Linked DNA regions of Homo sapiens: all the other regions are linked to region 1. The links are contacts of gene promoters, found by promoter capture Hi-C in blood cells and fetal thymus (Javierre and others, 2016). All regions are on one chromosome and are shown on one strand. The core of a region is centred on a gene start or on the middle of the fragment in contact, and the rest is flanking DNA. Distances in the headings are between cores, read along the strand shown. Region 1 holds the start of SLC9C1 (solute carrier family 9 member C1). Region 2 overlaps CFAP44 (cilia and flagella associated protein 44). Region 3 overlaps GTPBP8 (GTP binding protein 8). Region 4 has its middle 6.7 kb from the start of GTPBP8.

Region 1 (3,031 bases), core at 164-2,663:
AAAGTGCTGGGATTACAGGCGTGAGCCACCACGCCCGGCCACAGGTTTTCAATATAATTAGAACTCTTCATCTTAAGCTGACTTTTGACAGCTTTGTAAAAGTCTGTGAGTCCAAATCCCATTAAAGAAAAAAATATTGGTTTATCACATAGGTCCTCTGCATTAATTTAACAATAAGTTAGTTGACTGAGCACAGTGGCTCACGCCTGTAATCCCAGCACTTTGGGAGGCCTAGGCGGGTGGATCACTTGAGATCAGGAGTTCGAGACTAGCCTGGCCAAAATAGTGAAACTGTCTCTACTAAAAATACAAAAAAAAAAAAAAAAAAATTAGCCAGGTGTGGTGGCACATGCCTGTAATCCCAACTACTTGGGAGGCTGAGACAGGAGAATCAATTGAAGAGGCAGAGATTGCAGTGAGCCTAGATTGTGCCACTGCACTCCAGCTTGGGTGACAGAGTGAGACTCTATTTCAAATATATATATATATATATATCTCTCATGTTAGCTAATATCTCAATTCTCTTTGTGTGTGGAGGAAATTAATGACTGCCCTCTCAAAAATGACATGAATTTGTCCTTGTCAGTCAGCCAGCATTGAGAAATTTTGTCTCATGAACCGTAAGTCACACTAATTTACCATGTTACTGAACATGGAAACAGTCTTCTTCCTTCAGATTGGAACGTTTTGCAAGAATTAGGTGAAGAAAGCATCCTGAAGAGGGCACTGTGGGATCTCAGTAATCTTCACAGCTACAAAGCTCATGCTTAATGGTTTATTTTATATTGATACCAGAGGCTGGATTGTCTCCTTAGTAAACTCTCCTACCACACAACGCAGACATCTTACTGACTCTGAAGGTGGGTGGGCTATTGCCCTCCTAATGCCCCTCCACTCAGAATGAGCCCTTCCTCCAGCTCAAGATCAGCTCCACACACCTGAGGCGATTCCCTGAACCAGTGAGCTTTCCCCTAGGGCTGGACTTTTCAGTTTCAGTAACGCAAAGGGAACACATGCCACTGGATAGTTCACAAAGAGTTGATGTAAAAAGCATAATGGAGGAGGGGAAGCAGCTAAGGGGTAGAAGTTCAAACCGAGAAGCTAGCTGATCTTTGGGAAAGTGTTCCATGGTCTGCCACAAGAAAGGCAGAAGCGCCAAGAGGGAGTGGCTGAATCTCTAGCAGGAAAACAGTGGGAGCCTTTGTTCATCTAGGAGGCGAGACTGAGAGAGAAAGTACCAGTAGGAAAGGTCAACTTCCAGAAAAGGAAACTAGAGACTGGAGAGCTCACCATCCGGAGCCTCAGGAGGAGTATCCCGTGGTGTGCAAGTGAGAAGTGGGGGGCAGCTATTTCGCTCACAGCCAAACAGCCCAGACCAACTGCAACCTCACTGACAGTTACTTGCTCCAAACTCGCCCCTAGTCTGCACCGGTTAGCTTCAGGCCCATCATCTCTTACTTGATTGGCTGATGAAATGCAACGTCATTGCTCCTGTATATCTCAGGCATTTGACGGCTTAAGGCTTTGTTTTATTTTTTAAAAATAAACAAATAAGGGGTGAAAATGAACCTACAGAAATTGCGCCATTGTGTTAATTTAAGACTTTGGGACAGTGGATTTCTGACAAAGAGCTGTTGGACACTGCTTTCCCAGAATTCTAGTAAAAGGAAGTTTCCTGGATAAGATAGTGTGGTAGAGATATGAGGACGCAGGTTGCTGGGTTAGGGAAAAAGTGAATGGATATTGTGGGCATGTAAGAGAATGAAATCAAGATGACAAGGTGAACTTTCACTCTGGGTTATATGTGAGGAAATTTTCAGGAATAATGATATACTCATTTGTTTTTTCTAAACATAATATGTAAAAAATATTTTAATTGAAATTACTTAGTTATTACTATAGAGCCAACTTTTCACATTCCTACTCTCATAAAATATCTTAAAGTTATTTAAAATTGTATTTAATGTTTTGTTCTCTGTGTTTCATCTCTTTCTCCCGACCCACACGTTTATAAGTGAATGGTGGTAAAATTCCCAACTCTTCATTTGGCCTCCTCTGATACTACCCTGATGAAGAAGGCAGGAGGCAACTTGTTTGGCTGGGTTGGAGCAGAAGTCCAGGCTCCCTACATGGTCTCCAACTGAGGCATGGGGTGCATCTTTATGGCCTGGTTGTTATGGAAGTTCCAGCTCCCACAAGGCCTTTTCTGATACTGCTCTGGTTGGGGTGGGGAAACAGGCAGGGTTCTGGCATCTTGTATGGTATGGGTGAAGTTTAAGCTTCCTACTCAGTCTTTGCTGGTATGTGGGTACAGGGAGTGGGTGAACACTTTTCTGTGGTGTTTGGTTAAAGTAGAGCAGTTACTGGTGAAATTTTCTGTCTTGCTGGGCTGCCCCTTTTCTTGGGTCTTTAAAAAATCTATTCTCGGCCAGGTGCAGTGGCTCATGCCTGTAATCCCAGCACTTTGGGAGGCCGAGGCAGGTGGATCACCTGAGGTCAGGAGTTCGAGACCAGCCTGACCAACAAGGTGAAACCCCGTCTCTACTAAAAATACAAAAATTAGCCGGGCATGGTGGCAGGCGCCTATAGTCCTAGCTCCGGGAGGCTAAGAAAGGAGAATCACTTGAACCCGGGAGATGGAGGTTGCAGTGAGCCGAGATTGCGCCACTGCACTCCAGCCTGGGAGACAGGGTGAGACACCGTTTCAAAAAAAAAAAAAAAGGATTCTCATTGTTGGAAATACATGCCACATATCTGTGTGTGGGTTGTGGTTCATGTGTGGATATATATTTAAAAATTAATTAAGTTGCAAAGCTAATATTTGCCACATTATGTATTTGTTTATATACATATGTCTTGCTAAGTTTATATATATATATATATATATATATATATAAATAAAACAGGAAATGTAAATGTTGTCTAATATTTCTCTTTAGCAATATACTCTAATGACCACACACTGGACATCCTTGTAATCCAGAATCATTCACCTTTTTTTTCCAAGAGATGGGATCTCACTCTGTCACTC
Region 2 (3,031 bases), core at 194-2,693, 1.0 Mb after region 1:
GGAGAGGGTGGGGGGAGCCTGTATTTTCTAGATTTCTGTAAAATTGAGTTACAGATGAAATGCCACTTGAGACAATCTCGTTAAGTGGGGGGCCAGACCCTGGCTTTTAAACATGAAGAATTTGATAAACAGGGTCCTAGGGAAGAGTCACTCTGACTGTTTAGGGCAAGTGCATCCTCTGCTGGCCAAAATAAGTATAGCACCTGCTATTCCTGACTTCTGCATCCTTTTTCCATCAAGCTCAACGTCAGAGAGAACTTCATGTGGAAGTGCAGCATGGTTTTCAGGAAAGCAGTATTTTAAAAATATTATTTAAAAGGAAGGACTGTAAGGAACAGGTAAATGTTAGGAAATGAGAAGCAGAGCAGGGAAGAGAAGAGAAAAAATAAGATACTGTGATTTCAGACAACCTGGCATCACGGCCCAGAGCTCACTTCTGGGGTGGGTAGGGCTGACGCTCTCAGTCATTGCTTTGCTATCCAGAGGCCCCCCAATCTGAGCTGTAACTCACCTTCTAGCCCCACTGGTTTTTACATTTTTTCCTTTTTCTCCTTGATGATCTAAGGTAGCTGTCAAAATGAAGTCTGGTGAACTTTTCTGAAGTGATAGGTGAAACATCTGCTTTCTGCACAGCACTGGAATCATAGCACTCAATGGATTTAGCTCTAAAGAGAAATTTAGCACATGGCTCACAGACCTCCCTAAGCTGGGGAGCCCGCTGTGGTGGGACAGGCTGGCTGGCAGGCATGAGCAACTCCTTTACTCTGAAGTTGTGACAGAGGGGCTGGACTCTGTGGTTTCTTTTTCTTCCAATGCTGAGATTGATCATCGGTGATACTATGGATGACAGTTCAGAAGAGCCAAGTTATATGAACAATTGACCCACAAGTAACTCAGTGTAGGCTGATTTTTGGCCTTACCCTCAGAGGTGAGGCTGCTCCTCTGGGAGCACAGCAGAAGGCAGGGAAGTGTGCCAGGAGCAGGATAGCTTCCCAGCCACCCTGCCCATGCCACACCCTGCTGGTCTACTTGTGTTTGAAGCTTAACTTCCCAAAGACTCAGATGCTCTAACTTAACTACAGATTTAAGACTAAGCCTGGAATCAAGTTGAAATGAACCTAAAGCTATCAACATATTTTGTCCAATTCAAAATAAAGTAATTCAGTGTTAACTGTCGTCAATTCCCAAACATGCGGAATGAAGCCCTGAATATTGTAGAATTAACTAGTGATTTAGTCCAGCTCAGTTTGGGAATAATTATCCCGATTAGCTTTCCTCTCAGTTGAAATGCACAGCAAGTCCTGATGTGGCTCTTCTGTAGACTGTAGGTCCATTCTTGCTGCAATCAGAATCAGAATCTCAGAATGGGAAGGAACCCATTCTACCAATCCTTCATTTGTCAGATAATAAAATGAGGCCCAGGAAGATAACGTAACTTCTCCTGATTCTCTACAATTACCAAGGGGATGGTATCGCCTCAAGACCTTTCTCAGAGACCAGCCACTCTCTCCAGGCAGCTGCTTCTTGTGGCTGCCAGCTCCCACGAAGGCCCCGGTGACCCCCACCTGGCATTCACACCCTGTTCAGTCCCCTCCCACATCACACAGGGTCAGCCTGTGACCCATATGACAATAGTGACGCTATGTCACTTCTGAGCTTGGGCTGTAAAAGACTGTGGCTCTTGTATACATCATTCTCTCTTGCTGTCTCCCTCACTCTTGGATCACTTGCTCTGGGAGAAGTCATATCCCAAGCGGCCCTATGGAGAGGCCCACATGGCGAGGAACTGAAGCCCTGCCTAATGGCCAAGGGAGTGAATTTGCTAATAGCCCCTCCAGCTCCAGCCAAGCTTCAGATGGCTGCAGCCCCAGCTCCTAGTGTGACTGCAACTCCACGAAAGACCCTGAGCCAGAACACCCGGCCAAGCTGTCCCCAGATTCCTGGACCTCAGAAACCCTCTCACTCCTGGGTGAGATCACAAGTTTGTTGTTTCAAGCTAAGTTTGGGGGTAATTTTTTACCGCAATAAATAAGACACTCAGGGCTATGACTAGCATATTTTTAAAAATACTTGAAAGGCACACATGGCTTAGGATATACAACACAGAAAGTGATTTAAAAAAAAAAGTGGGTGCTCTCCAGTAGAGAAGTGACTACATCAGAAATTAATGGTGACAAGTGCAAACAATAAGGTATTCTGACCTCTTAAATAGGAATATGAAGGAATCTTAGGAAGACAATAGGCCAAGTGGCCACCTCTAAGAATATGCTGATGTACAAAGAAAGCAAGACCTGTCTGTAATTTTGGGGGGCACATTAGCAGGCTAATCACAGGTGAGGAAGACTTGGCATTGCTGAGTTCCCTTCTACATTTATGCAATGTTCCTTTCTTCACCCGCCCTTCTCAGTGACCAGCTTATCCTGGAACAGCCTCAATGAGTAGCTCGTTAATACAGAGCTCTTAATCTAAAGAGCTATGCTCTGTTACTAACAGGATTCCAAATGTCAGTGAGATTATCCTGCAATGGTTATAGCCATGAACTTCAATGAGCACTTACCCCCAAACCAAAAGGATACTCTTCAATTAGTTTAAAATGTTATGCATAATCAAAGGTGATTGTTAAAGATGATCTCTAGTAAATCTATTTCATTATCTCCTCATCTATATCAAAACCAGCAAATGGCCCAAGTAAAACCTGAAAGAAAATGGCAGGGGACATGAGAAACTATGGGGAAAACTTAGAATTCTGACGGAGTTGCAGAAATCTTTAAAGAAAAGCCTCTTTATTGACTGTTTTATTAAGCATGCCCCTCTGCTCCACTCAGAACTGAGGAGTCTACAAAAACTGTGGGCAATCCAAGAAGGCTGGTTATTTTCCTGCTTTCTGCCAACCCAAAGCAAACTGCTCTGCCATGTCTGTTTGTATTTCCTGAATCCTGAGCCCTCAAAACACTGCTTTATGAAGTCAACAATGCCAAAACTGAAATTTGCATTTCTATTCTAAGATATAGCTGACAAAATGTCCTTTTCT
Region 3 (3,031 bases), core at 305-2,804, 710 kb after region 1:
TTCCTGAGTTACTTCACTTAGAATAATGGTCTCCACCTCCATCCAGGTTGCTTCACATGCCATTATTTTGTTCCATTTTATGGCTGAGTAGTATTACATGGTACATAAATACCACATTTTCTTTATCCACTTGTTAGTTGAATTGTTTTTATAACGTTATGTACTGAAAACCTGTAATATTATCAGTGTTTCTTAAAGTGTCACTTAAAACTAGAGACATTTGAAGGCCAGGTGCCATGGCTCATGCCTGTGATCCTAGCATTTTTGGGAGGCCGAGGTGGGCAGATCACCTGAGGTCGGGAGTCCAAAACCAGCCTGGTCAACATGGTGAAACCCCATCTCTAGAAAAATTAAAATAAAAAAAAAAATTAGCCAGATGTGGTGGCACATGCCTGTAATCCCAGCTGCTCGGGAGGCAGAGGTTGCAGTGAGCCAAGATCACGCCATTGCACTCCAGCCTGGGCGACAGAGTGAGACTCTGTCTCAAAAACCACCACCACCACCAAAAAAAACTGTAGTATATCCATACCTGAGAAACATTTTGGCTGATCTCCATACGGACGGACAGACGGACGCACAGATGGATATAGGAAGACAGATAGATAAATAATATGTACAATAATGGTGATGGTAATTTTTTTAAAACCTAAAAAGTCTAACAAGGTAATTGAATATTTATTACAAAAAGAACAAACTAAAGAGATCAAGACTTATTCTGGAAAACAAAGCAAAATAGAAGATATAGTGAAATTTTTGGAATCATGAAGGAAATGGATCAGATAATATTGATCATCAGATTTTAGAATACTACAAGACGCGGCTGGGGGAAGAGAAGAAAGCTAGAACACATTAAAAGATGTTCTGCTTTCATATATGAAATCATAAGAATTTGTAAATTTTTTTAAGTTGATGAATTCAGATGTTATATCTGAGGAAAGGAAGAAAATTATTTCTCTTTTCTTTTCACAGTGCTGTGACCTTTTCTGGAATCCACCTGTTGAGATGCTTTATAGCCAGTGTAACAGGAAGTCTTGACTAATGGTTCCCGGTTTAGCTGAAGATTCAAAAAAAAAAAAAAAAGCTTTATGCTAACTGGAGTTAAATACCTAGAAGAATTTCAACATTGTTTTAAATGTTGTGCATCTGTAACTTCAGGAGGATCACTTGAGCTTTAAAACCTGTGCCTTCTCGAAACAAGAATTTGTGCCTGAGGTGAAAAAAGTTTGTAAGTTATTGAATTATGGTGTTCATTAGAACAGCTACTAGCTGATTCCCCTATTTTAACAAACTGACAAGAGCACATCCATAAAATGAAAACCTGTTACAACTATGTACAGAAGGGTTTGACGTTTTATTGGGCTTTTGTCTTTTAAAGAATATGTCTACTATGGGTATTTTTTTTTTAAATGTTAAAATGGGCTAGGTAAAAGGGGGCTGCTTTTCTGTTAAGCATCGATAGGTAAGTTGATGGATAAAAGTTACTATGTAAGCCTATTTTTTTGAGTCCTTATTTGAATATTGAAAACATTCTTGATAAAATGTGTTAGTCCATGTTGGAAACAACCGAAAGAACAGAATTCAAGTTCTAGTTCTGATGTTTATTATATATGTTGGATCTTGGGCAACTTACTTGATTTCTCGGAAATTCATTTGTTACTGTAAACGTGAAAGCTATTAAGATTCAAATGAATGGTTTTACAGCAGGTAACATGTGAGAAGACAGCTACATATTTGTAAAGCCAAACCAACAAAGAAATATAGCAAAATTCACAGGTAGATTTATTACAAGAAATGTCCTTTCATGGGGGAAGTAACATTTTCACTAGTGAAAAAGCAAAAAACAAAAATAGCTTTAAGTGAGAAAACTAATTTGTAAAGGGCAAGAGAAAAAAGCTGATGGGACAGTTTAGACTGCTACATTTAAGATTCAGAATGGAAAAATAAAGCCTTTGAACTAAAGTTAATAGAGAAGATTTTTGTGAAGGTGCCACTAACCTATTCATGTAAGTGGCTTAGGTTTTCAAAGTGAAGCTTAATATTAAAAGGTTATAGCTGTATTGCTGGATAACAAATTAAAGCTATAAACCAACTTCGTGGCTTTTCTTTAGAAAACAATCTGAATATATTGTCAGTTTTATAGTTGACAGAATTGGTCTAATCTAAGCAGGAATGTTTTCAGCCAAAAAAAAGATTTTTTAATATAGACATTCATAAAATATATAGTAACAAAAGAATTATCTTAGAAGTCATCTTTTTGTCTGCCAGTGTTACTTCACTGCTTTGATTTATCCTTGGTTCTCCTATAAGCAGAGCCTGAGCCAAAAGCTTACATATGTAAATTTGGGAAGTGATCCCAGGGAACAGTGGCAAAATGAAACAAGACAGACAAGCCTATTAACAACATATTCATTGAGTTAGCCAAAACATAGGCACTAGTGCTAGATCTTGAGGGAACTTGTGACAAGTCCTAGGAAATATGTGTTGTATAGTGACCAGGTCTATGCAACCTACCCCCAAAGGCTGAGAGTGCTGAGATGCCAAAGAAAGAGGCCAACAAATCCAGTTTGTCAGAAAGAAACATTTAATAGGGACTTATGCACAGAAGCCATGTCTCAGGCAGTGATCCCCACAGTTACCCCCCGACCCAGGGCTTATATGCCATAGAGAAAAGGGGGTACATGAAGGAACATGTGAGACACTGAAGTCACCTCCTCAGGGAAAGGCAAGAATGCTGTTTACAACTTAGCCTATAACTTGCTTAAGGCCAGGATTTACAGTGTGTGTGTGTGTGTGTGTTCTTTTAATAGATAAAAGTAGAAATCTTAGAGGGCATTCCAGGAACTGGTTATCAGAAGTCAACATGGTAGATTAGCATCCAAGATGGAAGTTACTTTAGCCTCATACTGTGCCTGTGAATTTCTTTGAGGAGGGGATGGGGTGGCCCCACACCTCTTCCAGGTTGTACATACCCAAGTGCTAGGCAGTTCCTGTAGCTGGTGAGAAGCCCAGGGGCAGGAAGTGAGACATCCCC
Region 4 (3,031 bases), core at 344-2,843, 690 kb after region 1:
TATGCTCCATTGACAACTAAGTTATGCTTTTATGACTATTTTCCTACTAGTGATCTTTCTTTCTTATATGCTTTCTTTTTACTTACTAATATACTACCAATAACTTGGAGTGATTTAATGTGATTTCAAAATGTGTGTAGGGGAATTTTCTAAAGAATACTGTTATGATTATCTCACCTTGGGAAAAGAAGAAGTAGGAAATATGAAACTGCTGAAAACGTTTGAATGTTGAATGTTCTGTATTGAGAAAAGGAAGTAGATAAGATCTTTTTTGATTTAATATTTCTATCTTTTACTTGGCTAAATATGATAAAGCAATGAAACCTGTAAGAAGTAGTGCTCTGCTTCCTAGTCAAAGTATCTTTAATTCTGGAAATTTTCAGCAAATTTCCTCCTTTTACTTCATTTTTTTCAAGTACTCCTATAATATTGTTTGGTTTGCTTTTGTTTTGTGTTGTTTTGTTTTTTGAGACAGAGTTTTGCTCTCTCACCCAGGCTGGAGTGCAGTGGTGTAATCTCAGCTCACTGCAATCTCTGCCACTCAGGCTCAAGAAATTCTCATGCCTCAGCCTCCCAAGTAGTTGGGATTGTGGGCGTGCACCACCATACCTGGCTAATTTTTTGCATTTACAGTAGAGAAAGGGGTTTCATCATGTTAGCCAGGCTGGTCTCCTACTCCTGGCCTCAAATCGATCTGCCCACCTCGGCCTCCCAAAGTGCTGGGATTACAGGACCAAGCCACCATGCCCAACTCTTACAATACTGTTATTTAAATTTCTTCTTTTCACCTTCGCAGCTCTTAACTTTTAAATTCTTTATATTTTTTATCCCTTCCTAATATTTATTGAAATATTCTCCAATCTAATTATCCTGCTATTTTGTTCTTTGAGTTGATAATATTATTCAACTATTAAACACATCCATTGAGAAATTTACTTCACAATAATATAATTCATATCTAATATGTTCAACTGGTACTTCTTAGAAGCTTCCTGTTTCATGTTTGCCATATATTCCCTTATCTCTGAGGATATTTTCTGTTTTTATTTAAATTCTTTGCCCACCAAGTCCATTCATTCTGATTACTTCTAGAATGAATTATCTTTTTCTTACTTTTTCTTCTATTGCTTGTGGGTTCATAATGTGAGTTCGTGAGATTATACTATTATGGTAAAATCAGCTATCTTTTAAAAAAAATCAGCTATCTTGGTAAATAACAGATACCTAGAGAGAGGAGTGAAAGGCTAGGTTCTGACTTGCACTAGTCTAGGCAGAAGAGAGATATATCACAGCATTCTGGGCTCAACCACTCGTGCGCCTGCCACCCATGAGATCCTGCCTATTAGGTAACCACCTAGTACCACTACACCAGGCATTATTCCTTTCTAGAGAGTAATCACAAAACATTGTTTGAATCTGATTGTCCAGCCCCTAGAGGAGGATGGGTAAGGAGGTTGGAGGGAATGTTCAAGGACATTGCTGCACTCAACTCCAGCTAAACCTGATGTTCATACCAGTTGAATCACCAATTCATTGCACTCCTCTCCAGAGGCCCCATACTTTATTACAGGTGGCTGAGACAGCAGCTTTGATTATAACCTCCTTCCACAGGAAGAATTCTAGTTTTGCCATGTCCTATTAAAATGACTAGAGAAAGTCTGTCCCACTTTTCTCAAAAATCTCCAGAGAAATCACTTGTATTTAGAGCAGAACCTGGAATACATCTTTCCTACAAGTATACAATCTCACAATAAGTGCAGGTGAGAAACTTCTCATTTTTAAATGTTTTTATCTTTTAATCTATGTGCAGAAAACAGTTCATATAGCAGGCCTGTGGCTGCTACCCTTAGAAAGATTTGTTTACAAGATTGGCACTGGGCTGACATTTGAGAACTTGACTGGTAAACAGTTTCCTTGCATGGCACAGAGCCAACTTTCCATTCATGAGTGGCTCACTGTATCTAAACTATTTGAACAAACAAGTGGTACATACTGATGCTGCTTTCCTTCTGCAAATCTGAACTTTCAGTGACTATAGTCAGTCACACAGGCACTAGATGCCTATATGAACAGCGCTCGGTAAAAACCCTGGACTCCTAGACTCAGGTGAGCTTTGCTAGTAGACAACATTTCACACATGTTGTTAAAACTCATTGCTGGCAGAATTAATTGCATCCTGTGCAACTTAGGGGACAATTAGAAGCTTGTGCCTGGCTTCCTCCAAACTTCACTTTGAGTGCCTTTTCCCCTTGCCAGGCTTGCTTTGTATTCTTTTGTTGTTGTAAATTATAGGCATAAGTACAACTATATGCTGAGTTCTGTGCATCCTTGCTCGCCTCATTTGGGAGCTAGTCTTGGGAACACCTGACACACTCTACCTATGAATAAGTTAAAAATTTGAATATACATCAATATATCTGCCTGTGAATGTTGCCTCATCTCCTCAGGGTGTTAGAGAACATTCCATTCACTTCCAACAAGGCAACAAGATATAAACTAGATGTGTACTACAAAGTAAACTTGCCCACTAAAATAACCTTGCTTAACACACAACAAGAATTAAAATGTTAACGAATTAATCAGTCAGAACAGCAAAATCCATACTATTTTCCAAAAACAATTTTAAAAAAACCCTCTGAGCTTGTTACTGATATAAAAACACAACCTGAATATGGTAAATAGTGTTCCAAATTATTTTAATAGCACTTGTATGACACAGAGCCAAATGCAAAATTACGAATGAAAAAAATTAAGACCACTTAAAGCAATCATTTCTCCCTCTATTGATAAAAACAACCTTGAAAGAAGTGAACCTTTACTCCTCCTCCAGAATCCAAATCACTCTACAAACTCACCTCCTACCTATGATTACTGTCTGATGGTTAATCTCCAGATCTCTTTAGAGAAATCTGTCAGTGCAGTAGGCACAACCTTAAAAGAAAGCTCAAACAACTTCTCTGAAAAAGAAACAACTTCTCTAAATTTAGATATATTCTCTAAAGACACATTAATCAGATATTTAAAAAGCTCA

What was found. The method cuts DNA at HindIII sites, captures the fragments that hold promoters and counts their contacts. A CHiCAGO score of 5 or more calls a contact.
Region 2: a fragment that was not itself captured here is called in contact with the fragment with the promoter of SLC9C1 in region 1 in 1 of 17 cell types (total B cells); the score reaches 6.5 in total B cells.
Region 3: a fragment that was not itself captured here is called in contact with the fragment with the promoter of SLC9C1 in region 1 in 1 of 17 cell types (naive B cells); the score reaches 5.0 in naive B cells.
Region 4: a fragment that was not itself captured here is called in contact with the fragment with the promoter of SLC9C1 in region 1 in 2 of 17 cell types (total B cells and naive B cells); the score reaches 6.0 in total B cells.

Annotation. Positions count from the first base shown.
Region 1 is chr3:112,292,803-112,295,833 of GRCh38, forward strand. SLC9C1 (solute carrier family 9 member C1) reads right to left here and starts at 1,414. Exons shown (of 29, transcript NM_183061.3): 1 at 1,291-1,414. The HindIII fragment of the contact is 3,564 bases long and covers 1-2,277 here.
Region 2 is chr3:113,288,074-113,291,104 of GRCh38, forward strand. It overlaps CFAP44 (cilia and flagella associated protein 44), which reads right to left. Exons shown (of 35, transcript NM_001164496.2): 35 at 1-3,031. SPICE1-CFAP44 (SPICE1-CFAP44 readthrough (NMD candidate)) reads right to left here. Exons shown (of 52, transcript NR_183050.1): 52 at 1-3,031. Among named protein-coding and RNA genes, the nearest start is that of BOC, 78 kb to the left of the region's middle. The HindIII fragment of the contact is 808 bases long and covers 1,040-1,847 here.
Region 3 is chr3:112,999,881-113,002,911 of GRCh38, forward strand. It overlaps GTPBP8 (GTP binding protein 8), which reads left to right. Exons shown (of 6, transcript NM_014170.4): 6 at 970-2,089. The coding sequence ends at 1,039. It overlaps RMP64 (ribonuclease MRP subunit p64), which reads right to left. Exons shown (of 9, transcript NM_015412.4): 9 at 2,564-3,031. Among named protein-coding and RNA genes, the nearest start is that of GTPBP8, 10 kb to the left of the region's middle. The HindIII fragment of the contact is 950 bases long and covers 1,080-2,029 here.
Region 4 is chr3:112,982,738-112,985,768 of GRCh38, forward strand. No RefSeq gene overlaps it. Among named protein-coding and RNA genes, the nearest start is that of GTPBP8, 6.7 kb to the right of the region's middle. The HindIII fragment of the contact is 1,215 bases long and covers 987-2,201 here.